Linked DNA regions of Homo sapiens: all the other regions are linked to region 1. Evidence: promoter capture Hi-C in 16 types of primary human blood cells and fetal thymus (Javierre and others, 2016). All regions are on one chromosome and are shown on one strand. Each heading gives the region's core, a stretch centred on a gene start or on the middle of the fragment in contact. The rest is flanking DNA. Distances are from core to core; before and after follow the strand shown.

What was found. Contacts are between HindIII fragments. The CHiCAGO score rates a contact against its expected background, and 5 or more counts as called.
Region 2: a fragment that was not itself captured here is called in contact with the fragment with the promoter of OR8J3 in region 1 in 1 of 17 cell types (neutrophils); the score reaches 5.8 in neutrophils.
Region 3: the fragment with the promoter of OR5J2 here is called in contact with the fragment with the promoter of OR8J3 in region 1 in 1 of 17 cell types (neutrophils); the score reaches 6.1 in neutrophils.

What each region holds. Positions count from the first base shown.
Region 1 is chr11:56,138,549-56,142,608 of GRCh38, forward strand. It overlaps OR8J3 (olfactory receptor family 8 subfamily J member 3), which reads right to left and starts at 1,653. Exons shown (of 2, transcript NM_001004064.2): 1 at 1,625-1,653. It also overlaps the pseudogene OR8K4P. The HindIII fragment of the contact is 14,492 bases long and covers 1-4,060 here.
Region 2 is chr11:56,201,960-56,206,019 of GRCh38, forward strand. It overlaps the pseudogene NAA50P1. Among named protein-coding and RNA genes, the nearest start is that of OR5J2, 27 kb to the left of the region's middle. The HindIII fragment of the contact is 4,198 bases long and covers 1-4,060 here.
Region 3 is chr11:56,174,783-56,178,842 of GRCh38, forward strand. It overlaps OR5J2 (olfactory receptor family 5 subfamily J member 2), which reads left to right and starts at 1,836. Exons shown (of 1, transcript NM_001005492.1): 1 at 1,836-2,774. The coding sequence starts at 1,836. The coding sequence ends at 2,774. The HindIII fragment of the contact is 2,510 bases long and covers 336-2,845 here.

The DNA.
Region 1 (4,060 bases), core at 403-2,902:
CCTGTAGTCCCAGCTACTCGGGAGGCTGAGGCAGGAGAATGGCGTGGACCCTGGAGGCGGAGCTTGCAGTGAGCCGAGATTGCGCCAGTGAGCCGAGATTGCGCCACTGCACTCCAGCCTGGGCGACAGAGCGAGACTCCGTCTCAAAAAAAAAAAAAAATCAGTAAGATTTTTATCATTTTTGTAATTCCTCAACATTATGCTTTCCTGGGTACTACTTTCTATTTCTTCCCTCTCATGACTATTCTTTTCCTTGTGCTAAAAGTTCGTACAATACTCCGTGTTTTTTTCATGATTTTTCTTTTAATTCAATTTTTTGTTTATAAAATGTTATATTTCTTAAATTTACACAATACACCTGCTCTTAATTTTAGCTGATCTGTTTTTTTTACGTTTTTTGATATTTATATTATTGTAACAGGAATAAACACCTTCATTTTGAGGGTTTTTATGATAATTATGTTGCATGTATTTGCCATAGATTCAGCGTGCTATTTTAGTATGGATGAACACTTTCCTAGAGTTGTATATTTTAATCATGATTATTTGCCCCTAACTAAGTGAATTCATGTCCTGTTGGAGTCACAATTGATAGTTCCAGTGGTGGGCACCTGGTCCAAATAAGTCTTATCATATAGTTCTTTATTTTAAAGTTCACAATTAAGTTCCAGAAAGTTAAGAATATATTATCACACAGATCTGAATTTTAAAAGCCCAGAGCTATTCAGTTTCTCTCCTTCTAAAAGAGATAGAATAGAAAGAGAAACAAATGATTATTCTACAGTGAGAAAAAATAAAGAAGTGACTACTTAAAAAAAGAAAACAGAGAAATAACACCAAAATGACTCCTAACGTTGTTGGATATCTGGTACCAGTTTGTTTGATGATACCAAGCATAAATTTTTCCTGTGGGTTCTGTGAATTATCCTCTTATTTTCCACATATTTATTAAAATTCTACTTTGTTCCAGGCTATGTTCGAGCTTCAGATAAATTACCTGACCCTCAGATCGTGAATATGTTATTGTAATGATAGGGAAGAGAAAAATCTGTTAAGAAGGCATATAAACACAATAATTGCAGATTTAAATAAGCATAATAGGTAAAACAAACAAGATAATATACTAGGATAACCTGGGAGAGTACTATCACATAGAATATTAATATTAATACTTTTACAAGGAAGGCTCTTCTGAGAAGGTGGCATTTGAATTGAAACCTAAAGGTGGAGAAGGAATTAGCTATTTAATCAGTCACAGGAAGGGCATTCCAGGATTCCAGGCAAGAATTAATTTCTTGAAAATGCGTATCTGGGAAAAAATATGGCCTATGCCACATCTGTTCTTCATTCAGATAAAGTTATCCTGCCTTTAGAATATGTTCTTATAAATGCTGTAACGTGCATAGATAGGAAATGAGAATAGGACAGGAGGGGCACTAGGTAAATAATGATAGACAAAGATCCTTGTTAAAAATAGTTGAAAAGCATGAAACATTAAGTTAATAGCCCTATATTGCAAGGGAGGAAATAGTTTTGCAGAGTATAGGGGCCTTCAACATCTTTGGTGATAACCTAGTTTAAACTCTGCCCTTGAAAATTGTCAATGATCAATGTTTCTACTTACTTCAACAGAGAATCTGCTTTGCTTTCTACTTCTTTAGCCCTCACAGGTGGCTACAGAATAGATTTAAGGTTTTTTTCTAAAACCCTTGAGACTCATTTAGTTGAAGTTTCAATCTGATTCAAGGATAAAAAATTGTACATAATTACCTGAGGGAGAGTGCCTTGGATATTTGTTAATTATTCTCAGAATTTTCCATTAGAAAAAGTCATAATATTTTATGTTTCAGTCTAACTGAATAATTGAATTATGCAATATGACTAAACACAGGAAATTATAAATATGACTTTGTCAGCATTTTGGTTACACAGTATTTTGCTCATATTAAGTATACCACACACAGACACCCATATATGCAATTTGTTAGTAAATGAGAAAAAATTTTCTAGAAAAAAACATGCAAAATTTGATAATACAACATCCATTGACAAAGAATACTTTTGGTGATTATGGTATAATTCTACCAGACATATAGTTATTGGTTGACATAAGAAAGTGTCATGACTTTGGCCGGGCGCGGTGGCTCACGCCTGATATCCCAGCACTTTGGGAGGCCAAGGCGGGCGGATCACGAGGTCAGGAGATCGAGACCATCCTGGCTAACATGGTGAAACCCCGTCTCTACTAAAAATAAAAAAAATAGCCTTGCGTGGTGGCGGGCGCCTGTAGTCCCAGCGACTTGGGAGGCTGAGGCAGGAGAATGGCGTGAATTCAGGAGGCAGAGCTTGCAGTGAGCCGAGACGGCACCACTGCACTCCAGCCTGGGCAACAGAGGGAGACTCAGTCTCAAAAAAAAAAAAAAAAAAACAAAGAAAGTGTCATAGTGTCATGACTTTTATTTTTTCTGCCAATGTATCAGTGGTAAACATTTCTTCATTCGTTTATATCTTTTATCACTAGCAATTTTGAAGAATTTTTTATAATTTTTTATAATTAAATTTTTTATAATTGATGGTGAAGCACTTTGGCATCATTTTCTTTCTGTTTATTTTGCTTGGAGTTATTTTATCCTGTTGTATCTTCATCATTATTAAAAAATAAACTTAGAAATTCTGGCCAACATCTTTTTCCCTGTTTCTTGTCCTATAATATAGTTTTTTCTTTCCACTTAGACCTTATAATTAAACATGTGGTAGGTATCTTGTTATTGTTCTATAGTTGACTGAGACTGTTTCAGTGGGTTTTGTTTTTAGTATTATGTTTCTCTCTGGCTTCATTTTGAGTGTCTATTGTGACAAGTCACATCTTTTCTTTTTCAGTGTATGTTTTTTACTCAATAAATATTTGTTCATATGTAATATTGTATTTTCATTTATTTCTCACAGTGTTGGTATTTGTGCTAAATCATTCAGTATATCCAACATCTATAATAACATTTTGAAGGTTGCACACTGCTGCTTTCTCATAGGACTAGAATTTGTGATTGGATGTTGAATATTGTAAATTTTATAAGAATAATTGCTGTGTTTTATTTTAATTTGTTTTCCTAAAAGAATGATAAATGTTTTAAAATGTACAAGTAATTATTGACTTTAGTCACCTTGTCGTGCTGTCAGTTATCAGTTGACTCTATTCGAGACTTGTTTTCAAGCTGGCAAAGGGGTTTAAAATAGCTTTGTTCCTGAGATTTCTACTGGATGTCTATGTCTTGTAAAAGGACTTTCCACTATGACTTTTTAGAATTCTAATGTCTTCCTGCCCTGTGTAGTTTCTATGAAATGTTTCAGCACACAATTTCCTGGTCATTCTTTTAACAGCTTTATGTCATGCACAAGTCTAGGGTTCAGCCAAAATCTCAAGAAAACTTATGGAGGAAAGGATGACCAACAATAAGGATAGGACCTATAGGAAACAAATAGCAATATGCCAAAAGGATGTTCTCCATTATCTGTGATAACTTTAAATGGACATGGATTACATTCTCCAATTAAAAGAAAGAAATTGACAGAATAAATTAAACAAACCAAAAAAACCACGTGATCCAAATATATGCTATCTGCATGAGTCTGACTCACTTTGTTTAAATAAAATGAAAACAAGATTGAGAATGTACATCCTATTTTAAAAAAAGGCAAAACCCCTACAAAATAAAGATATAGCTTACTAAAATGTAGCTTAATGTGTGTTCCACTGGTAGAATATAAGGTATGAGATCACTAAAGAAAATAGTAAATCAGAAGAAAGACATTTTCGAAGGAAGTGGTATTTTAATTGAATTCTATAATATGAGGGTTAATTGGCTGATTATAATGAGAACAATCTATTTTTGAAGTGTTAAAATGGTTCTTTTTGTAGAGTCATAAAGAATGTAATTATATCTATTAGAAACACTATCAAGTGATAAATATTTTCTCATAATTTATTGGAACAATGTTCCATAGTGTACTGTAAAGACAAAGTTTGCACTAATTCTTAAAGACTCTATAAAAGACATTTTTA
Region 2 (4,060 bases), core at 791-3,290, 64 kb after region 1:
ATGCCAGGTTTTCTAGGATTACAGCCAGCAATATAATATGGTCCATTCTTATATACATTGTTTAATTGATGGGAAAATTACATTGAGAAAAATTAAAAGTTCAAATGGTCATTAGTCAAACCCTTTTAAAAAAATAAAGCCCTGAAACTATAGAATTAACATGTAAATTTGTCAAGGTTTCCTATTTCTCTATTTTTCTTTTCTGCCTATTTTAAATCTGCTGACTTTTGTATTAGTGTTAAGCCAAAACTCAATTATTATGGCATTCCAGCCAAGACTATTTTTAAAAAAATAGATTTTAAAGAATTTTCAAATTAATGGCTTTACAAGCTACAACAGCTTCATGGTAACTTGGAAATATAAATGTAACTGTGTTTGACTAACAATTAGGGTAGTAGAATAGTTAGTTAAAGGATTAATAGTGTAAAAGAAAAAACTAAATAAAAGTTTATAAAAGTTTGGCTAACAGATCAAACAGGTCAAACTGTTAAGATCAGGGAAATAATATAAGATGTCTTTGTTAAATAAGATAAAAGTTCACATTGTCTGCAATCAGGGGCCAAAAGGAAAAAGAAAAAAAAAAAAGGAAAAAAATCCAGACTTACTAAAATGGTTTCCCGCTAATATTTGTCTGGTCAAGAAACACAAGACAGATTCAAGGCTACTCTTAAATTTGTTTTTCTTATACAACTCAGCCAGTCCTAGCAAAAATGTAAGTTTTAAATATTTAATCCTAAATTTACTTAAAATTAAAAAGAAAGAGAAAAAAGGAAAAAATAGTGTAAAAAAATTCCAATTGCTATGGAAAGTGCTGCTTTATACAAAATTTTGGTCGACAGCCTTCATTAGATTGCCTATCAGGCAAATAAAATTTAGTTATGTGAGGAGGTGCCAATTTTATAAAAAATATAATTTGAATCCAACTGTTTTTTTATAAACCAGTGAGTTTCTATAGTTTACTGTCTCATGACCAAATACTAAAATAAAGACTATAAAATCACTGTGTGTATATATGTGTTTAGGTACACTTATTGATATGTAAATATATTGTTGTATGTTGTACCTATATGGTAAAACCTAGTGCAGTTGGCCAGACATTCATTATGAAATTTTATTTAAATTGGCTTAAATAAATGAGCACTCATATAAAATTATATGATATAGTAATTAACCAAATGCCTTTTAGTTCATGTGACATAGGTATATCTTTAATAAATTAGCTGATTTTAAAATTATTGGTAAAGTAAGAAAAAAAATCTTCAGGATTGGAAACATACATTTCTGCCTGAATTTACTGGTCAGACACTTTTATACTTGTCTGGGCTAGATGGTTTAAAGTGTCAAGATTTGACACACAGGTTGTAAAACTATAAACCTAGCCTAAACCAGAATAATCTTTCTGTAACTCTTTGATACATAAGGGTAATTTTATATTGTCAGTTTAATGAAAACCACTGTATTTTTTGAATTATTGATAAAATACTCATATAATTAAAGTTCTTAAGTGAACACCTGAGAGTCACAGGCTATAATAATAATTGATAGGAAAATAATTTAAAAATATTCTAGTTTTGTTTAATATGTCAATTCTCATAGATAACACAGGTAAACTGTTAAAGTTAAATAAAATTTAAGTAAATGAGATAAATGCTTATAAATAAACTTTTCATGTAATTTAAAATTGTAAAGTTATGTTATGTTAAATTAAGTAATAAATATTCACTAAATAACTGGGTCATTTGCAAATTTTAGAAAATCAAACTGATTGTTAAACAAAATACTTTTATTCATGGTTTCTTAAATTATATAGAAATAGTAAATATACTAGAGTCTATCAGTACATACAAAAATTATGCTATAGGAAAACATGTTTCAAAATATATAAAATGGCTTCCATTCCATAAAATACTGATAAATGACAGATGGTTTAACACTGCTTGGTAGAAATTAGGTTGCTAAGAGTTAAAATTCCAATTAATATGTATATAATTCTGGGACAGAAACAGTGACTCACGCCTGTAATCCCAACACTTTGGGAGGCCACCTCCTGAGGTCAGGAATTAAAGGCCAGCCTAGCCAACATGGAAAAACCCCGTCTTTACTAAAAATACAAAAATTAGCTGGGCGTGGTGGCACATGCCTGTGATCCCAGCTACTCAGGAGGCTGAGACAGGAGAATCACTTGAACCTGGTAGGCAGAGGCTGCTACGAGCCGAGATCGCATCTCCGCGCTCCAGTCTGGGCAACAGAGCGAGACTCTGTCTCAAAAAATAAAAATAAAAATAAATAAAACAACAACAGTCAAAATCAATATAATTCTGTATAGAAAATGTATTAAAAACAAGATTTTTTGACAAAAAACTATTTACAAACCTAAAATATGTTCTTTTAAAAATAATATTGCATAATTCAGAGGTTTTTTAAAGATTATTTCAACAAATAGATTTAGGAAGAAAATTAAAACAAGACAAAAACTAGTAAATAGTTGAGAGAGATGTGACAAAAGTTATGGGTAAGAAAATGTATTTTTGGCAAAGAAGGTTAAAAAATTTTGTAGAAAAAAAATCTCGTGTGATAATTTTTGTACTAAAGTAAAATGCTTATTTTAAAAGGAGCAAGCACAGGACAAAATTAAAATTCCAAACATGTCAACAATGGTCTGAATAAATCATGAAAATAATTTTAAAGAGGAATTTATAAAATAAATTTTGTTTGTAATCAAGTTCTCTATAACTAAATGTATAAATATATTTATAAGTTATTCAGTATTAAATAAACTAATATAAAACTAAATCTTTGTCCCTTATGGTAAAACAATATGGTTTTATTGAAATGTTGGTTTGCTTTTAATAAAATTGCAAAAAGTTTTGATTTTTAATTTTGAAATCTGTTTCTGTAACAGTCATTTTCTAAACTGCAAACACTATCTATTTCTGCCAAATTTCTTTCTGAGATCCAATTAATTTTCCTAATTTCTGGTTGGAAATGCTGTATTTTTTTATTTAAAATGAGAATGTTACTTCTATAGGTAGATTTCTCCTCTTAAAGTATTTTAGATTCATATTTTGAAGTTCAATTTTTGCTATATCTCACTGCACGTGATTTTCAGGTTATTATTGCCTTCAGTTTTCCTTCTTTCTCCTTTTGAGAAGGTAATTTGTTCAGTTGTCTGTCTTTTCCACATCTGCATTCTGACCAGAAGGTAATTTGAGGTTTTTCTGCAGGACATGATCATCTGCAGGCTTTGCGGTTTTATAGTAGTTCTTCTTGGGCTCCATAATCTCAAAGCCAAACTTCCTGTAGAAGTCAATTGCCGACTCACCGCTGATCTGGACATGCAGATAGATGTCAAAAGTGCCATCTTTTTCACATGTTTAAGACATGAATTAACATTGTAGTTCCTATTCCTAGCCTTTGGTAAGGTGCCAGATATCCAAGTGTCATGATGTAAAGTCTTTTCTGATTCTGTGAATGAGCCACCCTAGAGTACACTGCACCTACAGGAACATCACTGAAATAGGCAAGTTTTGATCGTTCACCACCTCCATCACATCCTTGTAGAACTTACCATTGTAGCTGACTGAAAAGATAACCCGATTCCTTCTCTTCAACTGTTTAATATTGTGTGGTGTCCCATCTCCCAGCTCCATCCAGCTACCTTTCATCCTCCCCACCTGCTGAGGCTTTTGTTATCACCAATAGCAACTCAGTCATAGTTGCTGCCCTCAGCTCAAGACACTCAACCACACAAGATGGCCTCCTCACCCGGGCAGGGAGCTGAGCAGGTGACAGAGGCAGTGCGTCCCTAAGTCTCCTGAGGGGGGTGAGAGTGTCTCGCACCACTGCGCTGGTGCCACTGCTTCTCCACACATGCAAATGGGGCTCTTGGCTCTAAAATGAAGATTTTCTGATCTATAATTAACTTTGAAATTTTCCACTTGGGCCCATATGTCAAGAACATATGTCTTGCTAAATGATTAGTTTTATTTAGTAAAGTATAAGGGGGAAACATTGTCAAATACTAAGTGATGTTAAATCTTCTTTCAGTTACATTCAGGGG
Region 3 (4,060 bases), core at 586-3,085, 36 kb after region 1:
TATAATTCATATCTATAAGTATTCCTCTTTTATTGAGAAAACTATCCAGCTGATATTCTAAGAGTGGTAGAAAAAAGAGCATATATGTTGTATAAAAATGCAGTTTTTAAATACTTAGGATTATTGTTTACAGTACTTATCCATATTGTCATATCTGTTGGAAATTACTAAAGATCATTTAGAAAATCATTAAAAAATATGCATTTTCACGTTATATTTAACAATGCTAGTTAGTGAATAACTTGAGATAAACATTTACTAAAATAAATAAATAAAAATAGTGCTTAAACATTGCAGAAATGCTGCATCAAAGAAATCAATTAGAAAGTTTTTAAAGCTTTACCTGATCACTGTGAATCAAAATATATTACACTAAGTGTCTATCACTGTTCTATCTATCTATCTGGTTATGCTTCATATACTTACGTAACTATCTAATTTGTTAATTGTTAAAGAAACAAAAATACTTCATTGTAATAAAGTATTTTTCAATACACTCCTTCAATACACTCAGGGATTCTAGAGAAGTAATTATAATTATATCTTGGATGAAATAAGTTAACTTGTCCAATTAAATAAAGCCAGTTATTGTCAACTATGTATTTTCACTTTTCACCATTGTTGTCTTTGAAATATTTTAATTAAAATTAATAAGGGGTATAAATTACACATAGACTGAATCAATATTTGTTTCTCATCATTTCTAAAACTACAATCCATTTAATAGGAAATAAGAGTGGGAGATAGTTGATTATGAAACAGGTGAATAGCTTTGAATAGGAGGTGCAGGTGTGTATTGTTCCAATTGAAATTACATTTTTAGAAAGTCTTAAATTGTCTAAACTACCTTTTATAGGATGAATAAGAGGAAGAAGTATCACAGAATATTTGGTGAGTATATATATTCATGTTCTAAATTATTGAGTTTGTTTTATTGCCTAAAATTATTTGAAGTCTCAGAAAAAAAAAAAAAAAAAAAAAACAGGAAGGCTCCATTTCATGCAATATGTGGGATTCTAGGTCCTCAATCTCAGAGTAAATGATTAGGGCTACTCTCCCACCATGATTGCAGGGAGGATTACCTAGAGTTAAGAATCCCCACTTCTTTTAGTAGGTGTCATTCAAGAGACAGGGTGTTATTTCATGAGTTTCAGAGTTTGGTGTTGCCACACCATGCCACCCATAGTCACAGAGGCCAGTCTCTGGCTCCCTGGCATTTTCCAATGTCATCACTGTGGGTCCCTGATCCACCTTACTTCATTATTGTGGCCACTTTGCTGTCTATAATAATGCAACTGTAGATTAATTCCCTCTATAAATAGAAAATACAGGCAATTTTAGAAAGTTTTCTTATTTACTCAAAAACAAACCAAAAAATTACCAGAAAGGAGTTTCATTGAATGGTAATTTAATATTCTAACAATATGTATTTTACATACTGTTCATTTAAATTATCACTAGTGTTTTATCAGTTTTGGTGGCACTTTGTTATGGAGCTAGACATTTCAGAGACAGATGCTGTGAGAAAAAATCATTTTTACACATCGATTTCTATGAGGTATAAGCACATAAAGTGTCACTGGAAAAAATATTAGAGACTGTCTAGCCTACTTGCTAAATTTATTGATGAAAATCCTCAGAATTCAAGAAAGAAGATTATTTACCTGAAGAACAACATCAGTAGTTGTCTGTATTTTATCCTTGTGCATGTGTATGTGTATAAAATATGTATCAATTTAAATACTTTATATATGTAATATATATGTATTTTCCCCCTGACAAATTATGAGTCTATCTTTTTTTCACAGTAGATTTTGTGAAAAAGAAAGAAACATATGGCTGATGATAATTTTACAGTTGTCACTGAGTTTATTCTTTTGGGATTGACAGATCATGCTGAACTAAAAGCTGTGCTTTTTGTGGTGTTCCTGGTGATTTACGCCATTACCTTGTTGAGGAATCTGGGCATGATCCTCTTAATCCAAATCACCTCCAAACTCCACACACCCATGTACTTTTTACTCAGCTGTCTTTCATTTGTGGATGCCTGCTATTCATCTGCAATTGCACCCAAAATGCTGGTGAACCTCCTGGTTGTGAAGGCAACAATTTCTTTCTCTGCTTGCATGGTACAGCATTTGTGTTTCGGAGTGTTCATCACCACAGAAGGCTTCTTACTGTCAGTGATGGCCTATGACCGCTATGTGGCCATTGTGAGTCCCTTGCTTTACACTGTAGCCATGTCTGATAGAAAGTGTGTGGAGCTTGTCACAGGATCATGGATAGGTGGAATAGTTAACACATTAATCCACACAATCAGCTTGAGGAGACTGTCCTTTTGTAGGCTAAATGCTGTCAGCCACTTCTTCTGTGACATTCCTTCACTGCTAAAGCTGTCATGTTCTGACACCTCCATGAATGAGTTGTTGCTGTTAACCTTCTCCGGAGTCATTGCCATGGCCACCTTCTTGACTGTGATCATTTCCTACATCTTCATTGCTTTTGCTAGCCTAAGGATCCACTCAGCATCAGGCAGACAGCAAGCCTTCTCCACCTGTGCCTCTCACCTGACTGCTGTGACCATATTCTATGGTACCTTAATCTTTAGCTACATTCAGCCAAGCTCCCAGTATTTTGTGGAACAAGAGAAAGTGGTTTCTATGTTCTATACGCTAGGGATTCCCATGTTAAACCTGTTGATACACAGTTTGAGAAACAAGGACGTAAAGGAGGCAGTGAAAAGGGCCATAGAAATGAAACATTTCCTCTGTTAATTTCAAGTCACTATTAATCCTACAACATTCTGTCATTCAGTTCTCACTTCCAAGAATTCCGTGAATGCCAAAGCTTCTCAAGACTTTACAGATATTCTCATTCTATATACTTTTGTTGCATTTCAGGAGGCAGCCAGAAGAGAAAACTTAATTCACATACCTGCAACACAAAAACAACAATCTATCACTTAGTTATGCTGATATTCTAGGTTATTCACGTAATAATCAATACATAGTACAGTATTACATCTGTTCTTTTCTGTTATTTGGGGTTACAAAATTATAATAATACTTGCACTTAAGGATATAAAAATAGGGTACTTTGTAGGAAAAAATAACTAGTCCTTGAATTTCCAAGAAAATAGATATAATTATACAACTGAAATGTGCCTTCATTGACTTATAATTTAAATATTTTAAACAGTGGCAGGCCCCTCATAGAAATAAACTGAAGAGATTATTTTCTCTCCAGCTCTTTCAAAAACATGTTTTTGTTAATCTCCTTCTCTATGATTTAAACTCTGAAGAGAGAGGGTAGCTATCCCTATGATTACTTCTGAGATTATAGCAAAAGCCTCATAAAATTTTAGCTTAAGATTTAAAAATTTTAATTGCATGAATAGAATAATATAGTCATTTTGAAGTATTTAAAATTAAAAACACATTTTATCTCTCTTTTTTGAATATTTTTTCTATCATTAAAGATCTAAAATAAAAAACTGCAAATAAGATAGTTAAAATTCCACAAATTTATCGTTTACAGAAATTTCATGGAATATATTAAATACTTAAAATCAGACTATGTAAGTTAAAACCTGTTCATTGACTCACTTCTGTAATTATCCATTCTAAGATTTGATAGTTTTCTTCCATTATGTAATGTTAACTTTTGCCATTAGCAAAAATTTGAGGAAATATTTGCATTAATATTAAATTAATTTGAATTAAGTGTATTTTTCTGTATTTTTGAACTCTACTATCATGATCAGAGGAAAGAATCTTGATACTTAAAGTTCATGAGACAGTTGAAGAAATAGCCAAGTAAATGTGTAGTTCCAGCTTTATAGTTGGCAAGTCAGACATATACAATTTGCTAATGAAAATTCATAAACAGAAAAAAATAGTTTTTTGAACTTATTCCTATATTGGAAAATCCAATTATAAAAGTGATTGTGCAAATAAATTTTAAAATGCTTATGAAATGAATATTGTTCACATTTAAGTATACGTGACAGTCATTCATGAGGGATATGGAGTTAATGCCACAAAATTACTTCTAACAGCAA